2 separate regions of the Homo sapiens genome follow, and region 2 is linked to region 1. The links are contacts of gene promoters, found by promoter capture Hi-C in blood cells and fetal thymus (Javierre and others, 2016). All regions are on one chromosome and are shown on one strand. The core of a region is centred on a gene start or on the middle of the fragment in contact, and the rest is flanking DNA. Distances in the headings are between cores, read along the strand shown. Region 1 holds the start of CHADL (chondroadherin like). Region 2 holds the start of RBX1 (ring-box 1).

Region 1 (6,176 bases), core at 3,476-5,975:
TCTCGCCTACCTATTAGGTCCCAGCCCGCTAGGCAGAGCAGATACCATGCCCACTTTATGGATGATGAAATCAAGGCTCAGAGAAGTCCACCCTCAACATCCCCAGGAAGGGTAACTAACCCTGGAAAGGGCTTATACATGCCTGGCTCTCACAGGACCCGCCCCTCCCCACAAGCTGCTCGGATGGGCATGGACATGGTGTGCCTGGGGAGATGACAGGGGCTTGACTGAGAGTGGCTGGGTGGTCTTTGGCTGGAGGTCTAGGTGGGGGTGCCCACCTGTGCAGCGGAAGCAGCTGGCAGTCACAGTGGAAGGGATTGCTGCTGAGGTCGATGAGCTCCAGCTGGCTGAGACTGGGCAGGGCAGGCAGGGCCCGAAGCTGGTTCTTCTGCAGGTGCAGGCTCTGGAGCCCGGGCCCCAGGCCTGAAAAGGCCCCAGGACAAATCTGCAAGGAGTTGCCAGGCCCCAATGTGAGCTCCTGGCAGAGCTGTCCCACCCCCAAGTCTGGAAGGGAGCCCCATCTTCCCTCAGCAGAAGAGAAGCTGGAGAGCCCAAGCTGGTCCAGCCAGGAAGTGCAGCGCTGGGTCAAAACCCAGGCTGGTCTGATGTCAAAACACTTGCTCCGTCCAAGTCACCCAGATGCCCAGTTCATGGTCCACCCCACCACCCAATAATGGCAAAACCTCTTGGGGGCTCTCAATATGTACAAACAGTAGATGACTGCATGGTCCCAAATTCCTCCCTCCTCTATGCTCCAGCAATACCGTCCTGTGCAGGCACCGTGTGTGGCCTGGGTTCTGCCCGGACTGTCACTCACACCGGTAGGGGCAGTCCTGGTTTATCTCAGGGTCCCCGTGCCCAGGCTGAGACCTGGCACCAAGGGGCTGGCAAATGCTTGTTGAGTGAATGCACGCTGCCTGTGGCCTTGTGCCGCCTCCTGCACCAACCCCGCCAGATGCCCAGTGCCCACCTGCTCCAGGCCACTGCTGTTCAGGAAGAGGTGCTGCAGCGACCTGCCCACAGGCTGGAAGGCTCCGTCACGCAAGGCCCTGAGTGGGTTGCCCGAGAGCTGCAGCTCCAGGAGGGCAGGCAGCCCCTCCAAGGCCCCAGTGGGCACCTCTCGCAGCTGATTCCTGTCCAGGTGCAGCTTCTCCAGCTCCCGAGCTGGGCCCAGCGCCCCAAGGGACACTTCGGTGATGCGGTTTCCACTCAGGTAGACCCAGCGCAAGGCCCGTGTTCTCCCCAGGTCCCCAGGTGCCAGGCGGTCCACAGCGTTGTCCTGCAGGTGCAGGGAGAAGAGGCTGGGCAGGGCGCGCAGGGCAGCCCCTGGCACCTGCAGGAAACGGTTGCGTTCTAGGTACAGGTAGCCGAGGCGGGGAGCCCCTTCAAGGGCAGCAGCGCTGAGGCCTGCGAGCTGGTTGTCGGAGAGGTACAGGTAGATCAGGCGGCCCAGCCCGGCCAGGGCGCCCGCTTCCAGCTCCGCGATGCCGCAGTGCTGCAGGTGCAGCGACACCAGGTGGCCCAGGCCGGGGAAGGCCGCTCGGGGCACCGAGGGGAAGTGGTTCCGCCTCAGGTCCAGGAGCTGGGTGTCGCTGGGGAAGCCGCGGGGCACCGCCTGCAGGCCGCAGCCCTCGCAGCTGCTGTGCCGGGACTCGGGGACGCACACGCAGGCGCGAGGGCAAGGCGCGACTGCCCGCTCCTCCCCGGGGCCGCGCGGAGGGCCGCGCGGAGGGGCGCGGGGCCCGGCCACAGCCCGCTCTTCCAGCTCTTCCTCTTCCTGCGCCGCGTCCCCAGGGCAGCGCAGGTCCCAGGGCCGCAGGGCGTCCAGAGCCTCGCCCCGCAGGCGCCGCGGCCCCTGGCACGCGCCGTCCGAGCGCACGCGCGCCCGCGCCAGCCACTCGAGTAGGGGCCGCGCCTGGCAGCCGCACCACAGCGGATTCCCCTGCAGCCGCAGCCGGCGCAGCTGGCCCGGGCCCTGCAGCGGGGGCAGGGTGTCTAGCTGGTTCCCGCGGAGGTCGAGGGTGTGCAGGCGCGGACAGTGTGCGAAGGCCCTGGGACCCAGGGCCTGCAGGGCCCCGCCGTCCAGCAGCAGCTCCCGCAGGCCGGGCAGCGCCAGCCCGTCCTCCTCGCCCGCGTAGGTGAGCGGGTTGTGGCCCAGCTCCAGACGGGCCAGGCCGCGGGCCTGGGACAAGACAGGCCCGGGCAGAGCCTGGAGCTCGTTGTGGTGTAGGCTGAGCCGTCTCAGGGCGGGCAGGCCAGCCAGGGCCTCGGGGGCCAGCACGCTGAGCGCGTTGTGCGACAGCCGCAGCCAGCGGACGCGCAGTAGCCCCTGGAAGGCCATGGCGGGCAGGTAAACCAGGGCGTTGTGGGCCAGGTTTAGCGTGGCCAGCGCACCCAGTGCCCCGAACGTCCCCGGCCGCAGCTCCTCCAGTGCGTTCCCCTCCAGCTCCAGCCGCCGCAACGAGCCCAGCCCGTCCAGCGCCTCCTGGGGCAGCTCACGCAGGTGGTTGGAGGCCAGGTTGAGCAGGAGCAGGCGGCCCAGGCCACGGAAGGCGCCCTCGGCCACCAGCTCCACCTCGCAGTGGCGCAGGTCCAGGTGTGTGAGGTGAGGCACGCCCTGGAAGGCGGCTGCGGGGATCACCTTCAGCAAATTGCCCTGCAGGTCCAGCCGCTGGGTCAGCTGGGGACAGCGAGGAGAAAGTGGGGCTGAGCCAGGCAGGGACCCCGCCTTTGCAAGTGCTGCTTCTTCCCCGGAACACTCTTTTCTCCTGTCACCTTTCCCATATTTCTCTTCATCCGACCCCTGACACCTCCTCCAGGAAGCCTTCCTCTCCAGTGCCCTGGGCATCACCCACTGTGGCATTTTTCACACTGTGCTGTCCCTGCCTCCTCGCTCTCTCTCCTCCACTAGCTGATGACTCTGCAGAGCAGAGACCACACCTCACCCTGCCACAGCCCGCCTCTCCACCACAGGGTCTGCAGTGAATTCAGTATCGATCTATGGGTCACCTACTTATTCCATTCACACAGTAAGGATTTTAAATAGATCATCTCCCTGTTACTGGTTTTTATTATTCCCATTTTACAGAAGTGTAAACTGAGGCTCAAAGAGAAGTAATTTGCCAAGGTCTCCCGGGCAGGCGGTGGCAGATCAACTGGTGCCCAGCCCAGGCTCCTCCCTCTGGGTCCCCACCTTGCCCCACTGCCACTCTGTGCCTGTGCTCCTGCCCTGCTGACCTCAGGGATGGCGTCTGGCACCTCAGTGAGGTTCTGGTACCGGCAGGCAACGTGTCGCCTGGAGTTGTCACAGATGCAGGCCTGTGGGCAGCGCTGGGCGGCGGCCTGCCTAGCCGGGGCCAGCAGCAGAAGTACAAGAAGCGGCAGCACCAAGGGGACATGGGTGGAGCTCCGGGGCCTGGGACGGGGAGGGAGAGTCTGTTGTGCACAAGGGCCGAGGCCACATGCTGTCCCTCACTTAGTCCCAGCCATGGTGCAGCTCCTGCCCCAAAAACCCCTCAGAGCCTCCTCCTTTGGGCCCAGGAAAGTGCCAATCACCCTGAGCCTCCCTGCCCCCCACCCCCCACGCAGTGGAGGTCCTATGATTAGTCCTGTTTTACATGGGAGGAAACCGAGGCTCAGAAAAGTGACCTGGTTAGTCCCTTTGCCTCTGCCCAATGGCTCAGTGAGGACTTGCTGACTGTGAGAATGACTCCAGTTCAGAGCATGTTCTCAGGCTGTGGTGAGGCTCTGGTCCAGGGTAGGCTCGGAAGCAGCCTGTCCTCAGACTGATATGATGCCAGCTCCCAGGTGGCAGGAGCATAATGGTACCCCCCAGAAAGGAGGGAGGCATCCAGTCCGGGTCCTTGAGTCTTTTTTTGTTTGTTTGTTTAAATAGAGACAAGCCTTGCTCTGTTGCCCAGGCTGGAGTCTGGAGTGCAGTGGAATGACTATGGCTTACTGCAGCCTTCACCTCCTGGGCTAAAGTGATCCTCTCACCTCAGCCTCTTGAGTAGCTGGGACTACAGGCACACACCACCACGCCTGGCTAATTTTTTAATTACTTCTGGTAGAGACAGGGTCTCGCTATGTTGCCCGGGCTGGTCTTGAACTCCTGGCCTCAAGTGATTGTCCCACCTTGGCCTCCCAAAGCGCTAGGATGATAGATCACCTCCCCTGCCCAGCTGGCCCCTCTGTTCTCAGCCTGTGTCAGGCATGGCCTCTCCCCCATCGCTGGGCTGTTCCCCGGCCCCCAGGAGCCTCCCCCTCGCTGCTCACTGGACTATCGTCTGTTTTGGAGTCTCCTTTGGGTCCCAGGCTCCAGCCCCTGCGTTGGAGTTGGTGGCTTCTCCAGAGCCTGTGGTGAAGGCTGTGCCTCAGGGCAGGCCAGGGAGGGGACCCATGGGGACAGATCGCTGAAGCGACAAGCATTCATAATGCAGGGACCACTGCTGGGCTCTCAGACAAGCCCCAGAGGACCAGTTCCTGGCAGTGGCCACATTGCCACGTGTCTCAGAGCCCACCTTGGGAGACCCCCTTCCTGGAGAACCCCAGGAAGTCCCCAGAGCCCCTGCCCGCCAGCCTCTGAGAGGCCCAGAGGGGGCAGAGACTTACCTGAGGCCACTGAGCTGCTCTGAATCCCCCCTTGCACCATCGGGCCCAAAGACTCACCCCTCCATGCCGCCTGGAACTGCTGGTCCAGCCTGGAGGCGCAGCGCAGGGACAGGCTGTCCCCGCCTGGCAGGAGCCCCCCTCCACGGCCCGCAGGCCTGGCAGCTGGGACAGGGCTGAATGGGAGGCATTGTCGGCAGACCAGGCAAGCCAGGCTTCCCCAGGCTGAGGTGAAGAAGGGGCGGGCGGCGGGCGGGAGCAGCGGCTGGAGTTACAGGGCCTCCTGCCTGCCCCAGCCGAGGACTGAGGCCCCGGCCTGAATCCTTGGGCCAGCCCGACAGGGAGGGGGCACCAGCAGCTGGCCCGGGAGTCAGCAGTCCTGGGCTCCCTCCTGCCATGTGGGCTGCCCTCCCAGAGGCTGCTTCCTAGTCTCTGAAAAACACATCCCATTAATAAGTAGCTCTGAGGTCACAGTGGGGGTTCAGGCCCGCACCTGGCACACAGTGGGTGCTTCAGAACAGGTGACCCTTTCCTTCCGTTTGTGCTTACACATTGACATAAATAGTTTAATACTGGACACACAGGATTCTAGACACTCATTTTTTTCACTTAACCTCAGATTACTGGGAGTTATCCAAATTGACTCTTCCGAATCTCATTATTCTGTGGTATATAGTATTCCATTGTGTAAATGTATCACATTGACTTAGCCATTCATCTTGGACATTGGCTACCTCCAATTTTTTGCTATTTACAAACAATATTGCAAAGAATATCCAAATACGCATCTTCCCAAGCTCGTGTTTGTTTTTTAAATAATACATCCAGACCATGGCCAATGTTCATGTATCTTGATTTTTCAGATTCCTGCTTCTGATGGAATTGCATCTTCTACTGTTTGTTCCTTTAATTGGAAACAGGGGTCAGGCACAGTGGCTCATGCCTGTAATCCCAGCACTTTGGGAGGCTGAGGTGGGAGGATCACTTGAGCCCAGGAGTTTGAGACCAGCCTGGGCAACACAGACTCTGTCTCAAGAGAAAAAAAAAAGGCCGGGCGCGGTGGCTCACGCCTGTAATCCCAGCACTTTGGGAGGCGGAGGCGGGTGGATCACGAGGTCGAGATCAAGACCATCCTGGCTAACACAGTGAAACCCTATCTCTACTAAAAGTACAAAAAATTAGCCGGGTGTGGTGGCAGGCGCCTGTAGTCCCAGCTACTTGGGAGGCTGAGGCAGGCAAATGGCATGAACGCGAGAGCCGAGATGGCGCCACTGCACTCTAGCCTGGGCAACAGAGTGAAACTGTCTCAAAAAAGAAAAAAAATATATACATATATATATATATATATATATATATATATATATATATATATATATATATGTATGTGTGTGTGTATACACTTATGTGTGTATATATTTATATATAATAAAAATATAAATGTATATGTTTATATATATTTATATATGTTAAACAATGAACATCTGTGTGTACTTTTCCTAGACTGCAGGAGTTTTTTGTTTTTTGAGACAGAGTCTCACTTTATCGCCCAGGCTGGAGCTCACTGCAAC
Region 2 (5,834 bases), core at 1,111-3,610, 290 kb before region 1:
TGAGTAGCTGGGACTACAGGTACCCGCCACCACGCCCGGCTAATTTTTTTGTATTTTTAGTAGAGACAGGGTTTCACCATGTTGGCCAGGCTGGTCTCTAACTCCTGACCTTAGGTGATTCTCCCACCTCGGCCTCCCAAAGTGCTGGGATTACAGGCTAGAGCCACCTCGACTGGCCCTGAGACTTCTTGATGTATTTATTTGTTGACTTGCATATTATTCCCTAACTAGGGGTTTATTTGACTCTGTTATTATGTCTCTTCTGTTTAAAACAGAACCTGGTAAATATCAATACTTTTATTGAATGATTGATAAATATGTCTTCAAGACCTTAATTTACAATGGGTTTCTAGTATTCCTGTCAGGGCCTGTAGGCACACAACAAATTAACAACAGAAATTTTAACAAAGTCATTAAAACTTGGGCTAAGAAAAACTTTGTAGGGTTCTTGTAGCCCTTTAAGGTCTCACACAATTTTTCTTTCCAAGTCTGGATAAAGCTGTGGTGGTCTTTTCCCGGATCTGTTGTTGCTGTTTATAACTAACAAACAAATCTCAGTTCTTTCTCTTTTATTATTTTTTTTGGGGGGGAACGGAGTCTCGCTCTGTCACCCAGGCTGGAGTAGAGTGGCTCGATCTCGGCTCACTGCCACCTCCACCTCCCGGGTTCAAGAGATTCTCCTGCCTCAGCCTCCTGAGTAGCTGGGACTACAGGCGCGTGCCACCACACCCAGCTAATTTTTGTATTTTTAGTAGGGACGGGGTTTCGTCATGTTGGCCAGGCTGGTCTCAAACTCCTGACCTCAGGTAATCCACCTGCCTCGGCCTCCCAAAGTGGCTCCCAGGCGTGAGCCACCGCGCCCAGCCTATTCTTTCTCTTTAGCAATAGAGTCAGCACGCTCCATTACCCGCCAGTTATCTTTTAAGAGAAAATACAAGGCTTCAAATGCACCTGTACGACATCTAAGAGTGCTCTGGCAGAGTCACACCTCTGCAAGGTTAGAGATGTCAAAGGGAGTCCTGGTCTAGCCAGAAATGGGAGAGTGACAAAGTACAGGTGCTTGGGTCGGGTGGGATGGCTCACTCCTGTGATCCCAGCACTTTGGGAGGCCGAAGTGGGAGGATCACTTGGGCCCAGGAGTTCGAGACCAGCCTAGGCAACATAGTGAGACCTTGTCTCTATTTTTTAAAAAAATTAAAAAAGAAAAAAAAAAAAAGCGGCTCTAGCACTTTGGGAGGCCGAGGCAGGCGGATCACCTGAGGTCAGGAGTTCGGGACCAGCCTGGCTAACGTGGTGAAACCCCGTTTCTACTAAAAATACAAAAAATTAGCCGGGCGTGGTGGCGGGCGCCTGTAATCTCAGCTACTCGGGAGGCTGAGGCAGGAGAATCGCTTGAATCCTGGAGGCGGAGGTTGCAGTGGGCCGAAATCGCGCCATTACACTCCAGCCTGGGCAACAAGAGTTAAAAAAGAATGCCTCACAAAAATTCAAGAAATACAGCGACTGCAGATGGGTCGGTTTCACTACAGCACAAGCAGCGGAAAAAGGACACAGATCGGGGAGAAATCACCCTACAAAGATGACAACTGAGGAATGCGGAGTGGGGACTGACACACGTTACGGTGAAACCGTGCACCACGACCAAAGGCGGTCCTAGGACTGCGACTATGTGGGCGCAGAGGCCACCCCCCAGGCTTGGCGGGCGAGTAAAGGCAGGGCTGGGGGCCTGCTCAGTGTGGCCTTAGGGAGGAACTTCGGGGGTCTCCTCTCTCCCCATCGAATCCCTGAGCAGTTCCCGAACAGAAATCGGAGACCAGACGGTGCCTGGGCCCCAGCCCTCCCACGGGGACTGCACCTTGGGCCTGGCTCGGAAGCGGGTCAGAGTCTGCGAAAGACCAGCGAGGACTCTTGGGTTTCGGGGCAGGCCGCGGGCGCCCACCCACGCCAGCACCGGGAGCCGCGCGGCGACTCGGCGAGCCCGGCAGGCAGGACAGGACTGCGGCGCAGGTCTGGCTCAGGCGGAGGAAGCAGCCGCCGCCCCAGCTGACGGAGTGCGGCCGGGGGCTTCCCAGAGGAGGCGGCGACGTCGAGCCCTTTCGAACGTTTCCACCCGGCTAGCTCACGTAGCCTCGGCCCCGCCCGGCCCCGCCCGGCCCCGCCCCACCCACTCCGGCCACCGCCCCCTCCCCGGCCTACAGTTCGCGGGTGGGGCGACCTGCGACAGCCCCTTTAAGAGGCGTGGTCACGTGCTCCGCCCCCACCTCCGCCTCGCGCGCCAGTAAGGGGTGGGGTGCGGGAGGAGGTGCCGGGGAGGTGGGGGGAGCGAAGTGTGCGCTGCTGCGCAGGCGCGGTGGTCGGACGACAGACCGTGTGTTTCCAAAATGGCGGCAGCGATGGATGTGGATACCCCGAGCGGCACCAACAGCGGCGCGGGCAAGAAGCGCTTTGAAGTGAAAAAGGTTGGGTCTCGCCAGCGCCTTCCTCAGGGAAGCTAGAGAGGCGCGGATCTGGCTGGCAGGCCCGAGGATGGTCGAGGCGCGGAGTAAAGGGTTTCATTTCAGGGCGTTCCTGGGACCGGGTACCACGAAAGGAAGCCGGGGGGCGGGTCTTAGAGTTGATCGGCGTGACGGCGGCCCACTGTTGGGGGAAGTGTTGGTTTCGCTGTGAGGCTAAGGGGCCAATCACAGAGCTGCTTATTGAGATACGCGGGGTTGCGACTTGGCGGCGGGAGCCAAGCGCTTGAGCTGTCACTGGAGTGGTTGAGAGGTGGGGGAAGGACAGGGTAGGGTGGGGTGGGGTGGGTGGAATGGGGAGTCGAAGCGAATGCGGCGGTGGAGGATGGGGCAGTGCGGCGAGAGCCTGGAACCTGAGGTCCTACCGCATTAGAGGCCTCTGAGGACCCCCCTTGGTGATCTTGCTCCGCCCCTTTTTGAAGCTTGGGGTCCTCTCACTTGGAGGGGTCCTCTCACTTGGAGGGATCCTCGCTGAACCGAGGCCTCACACTGCCTGGTTAGAGTCTGGAGTGTAATGCTTGGCTCTTCTGAGACGTCTGTTGGCTTTTCACACAACCACCCCACTCTTGGGTTCTCTGTCACGTCCAGAATCTCCCCCTTCCAAAATAATAATAAAAAGCATGGTGGAACTTGTTAAGAAAATCCGAGCCCAAATCCTGTGGCAGTTAGGGAGGGTTGAGTACTAGTCGCGAACGACTTGGTAAGCGTGGGAAAGCAAAAATGGAACGTGTCTTTTTGCATGAAATGCCTTTTAGTGGTTTGCCACAGTTTGGGAGAACAGTATCGATTCTCACCTAACATGAAAGCTGTTCAAAATGGAGATTCTAAAATAGGGAAGATATTCCTAGAACATCTGGCTAAACACTGACAATATCCCCCGTCCTAGTGCTTTTTGGTGTCTCATTGTGGCCACTGCTGCTCAGTTACAGCCAGCAGCCATATTGAAAAATAATAGAAGTAGGGGCTTTTCCTCCACCTTGAAGCTGTGATGTGAAAAGTGGTAAAGAAGTTACTAGGCACTGAGAATGGGGTTTGAAAGCGAAGAAGGTTTGGGAGTATTTGTAATTGAGGAAGCCAGAGTTGAATGAATGAAATTCTGTTAAACTCTTACTGGAATTATTATCTTAATAGAAGAGTCTAAACATATAAAAGTTGAGAACATCAGTTTATTTTATGGTAAGAATCAAAATTCTAGTGAATTGTAGAATTTGTTATGAAGTAATCTAAGATTTAAGTGATGACCTTGTTCTGTGTACTGACACGGGTATTTAATTATCCAGCTTATCCCATGATTACCCATTTTATGATCCAGTCATTATCTTAGTTCATTCTGTTCTCTAGCTTTCACTTCATTGCTCATGCTTCCAGAGCTGTGTAGAGCAGATACTTATTCAGATTTTGAGCTCTTCTGCAACTGCCACCAAAACCTGCACAGAAATTCAAGTTTGTGCCCTTTTTTTTTTTTTTTTTTTTTTTTTGAGATGGAGTCTCACTCTGTCGCCCAGGCTGGAGTGCAGTGGCACGATCTTGGCTCACTGCAACCTCCGTCCCCCAGATTCAAGCGATTCTCCTGCCTCAGCTTCCCAAACAGCTGGTATTATAGACACCCGCCACCAGGCCTGGCTAATTTTTGTATTTTTAGTAAAGATAGGATTTTGCCATGTTGGCCAGGCTGGTCTTGAACTCCTGACCTCAGTGATCGGCCCGCCTCGGCCTCCCAAAATGCTAGGACTATAGGCGTGAGCCACTGCACCCGGCCAGACTAAATTATTTTAAACTATAGGAAACAAATTAAAAGATGACATTAATTTCTGTGTTCATATACTCAGCCTTTTGGAGAATAGAACATACGTGTAGTCTACTGTTGTCTTTGGTATAATAAGATTAACGTAATATCCAAAAACTTTTGTTTGGTGGTTCCCTGTGGCCAAAGAGATGATAACTGCAGCTGCAGCCTGAGGTCCTAAAGAGTATGTGTGTGTGTTACAAGCAGAATGCACTGTTCCCTCTTTTTGTCTTTGCAGTGGAATGCAGTAGCCCTCTGGGCCTGGGATATTGTGGTTGATAACTGTGCCATCTGCAGGAACCACATTATGGATCTTTGTAAGTAATTGGAGGAGGATGGGAGGAAGTTGAGAAGGTTGCAGAGATTGTGGCTATCTTGATGTGACTGATTTTCTTCTTCACACGAGGAGATAGCAAGCCTACTCTGAGCACTCGGTCTTCTGTATCTAGTCTGTTGGTGTGTTTGAAATAGAGTAGTTTTTTTATGATGTCCTGGAGGCATACCCAGCTCTCAGAATAAATCTACTCAATCTAAAGATGGCAGGGACACATTTAGAATTAATTGTGGACGACAGGCACTGTTGATTTTTCCTGCATATCTTCCATCTTGTACCTAGACTCAAAGGTAGAAATAGTGAAAGGAGGAAAATAAACTTTGAGCTAAAATATTCTGAGGCCAAGCGCAGTGGCTCATGCTTGTAATCCCAGCACTTTGGGAGGCCAAGGCGGGCAGATCATTTGAGGCCAGGAGTTGACCAACCTGGCCAACATGGTGAAACCCTGTCTCTACTAAAAATACAAAAATTAGCTGGGCGTACTGGTGCATGTCTGTAATCCCAGCTACTTGGCAGGCTGAGGCAGGAGAATTGCTTGAACCTGGGAGGCAGAGGTGGCAGTGAGCCGAGATCACACCACTGCACTACAACCTGGGCGACACAGCAAGACTCAAAGTCTCAAAAAAAAAAAAAAGTCTATCTGATCTAATTTTTGCTGGTCATTGTTTACAAAGGAAAGAAGCGTTAAGGAGTGAGGATTTTGTATGTTAGGCCCAAACATAATAAAAAGGAAATCATTGCCAACATCTAAATAAATAATTAATTGCACTAAAGAAATTTCATTTAAATCTCCACATATTTTATTACATGTAGTGGTCAGCACATAGTGATCTGATTATAGTCTTTGATGAACTGATTTCCTGTCCTTACAGTAGAAGGGACAAGAATGTTGATCACACCAGGAACAGTTGAGGTTACTTTTTCATCCGGGAACTAAAATGATTTGTTACTGAGGCCAGAAATGGAGGAAAGAAACTTTAAGTTTCTAGAAATGGAATTATAGGAACTTATTTTTCAGATCACTCACCTGCCTTTACAACTTTGTCTTGAGTCACTCCTGCTCACTCTGTTAGTTTACCTGGATGCTTTTTTTTTTTTTTAACTGACCACGGTGGCCAAAGCAGCCATGGCCCCGGCCAGTTTTCCATTTTTTTTCCTTATTCTGAGATGGAGTCGCCCAGGTTGGAGTGCAGTGGCGTGA

The links. Contacts are between HindIII fragments. The CHiCAGO score rates a contact against its expected background, and 5 or more counts as called.
Region 2: a contact is called between the fragment with the promoter of RBX1 here and the fragment with the promoter of CHADL in region 1, in 3 of 17 cell types (neutrophils, erythroblasts and M0 macrophages). The highest score is 6.9, in neutrophils.

What each region holds. Positions count from the first base shown.
Region 1 is chr22:41,236,206-41,242,381 of GRCh38, forward strand. It overlaps CHADL (chondroadherin like), which reads right to left and starts at 4,726. Exons shown (of 6, transcript NM_138481.2): 1 at 4,669-4,726; 2 at 3,238-3,415; 3 at 971-2,680; 4 at 279-445. The coding sequence starts at 4,676. RefSeq lists enhancers at 525-1,113, 1,114-1,702, 1,703-2,291, 4,329-4,829, 4,830-5,330 and 1 more and silencers at 1,477-1,576, 1,637-2,016. The HindIII fragment of the contact is 52,914 bases long and covers 1-6,176 here.
Region 2 is chr22:40,949,018-40,954,851 of GRCh38, forward strand. It overlaps RBX1 (ring-box 1), which reads left to right and starts at 2,361. Exons shown (of 5, transcript NM_014248.4): 1 at 2,361-2,459; 2 at 4,538-4,616. The coding sequence starts at 2,382. RefSeq lists enhancers at 1,323-1,913, 2,428-2,637, 3,093-3,681 and a silencer at 1,798-2,377. The HindIII fragment of the contact is 5,907 bases long and covers 1-2,933 here.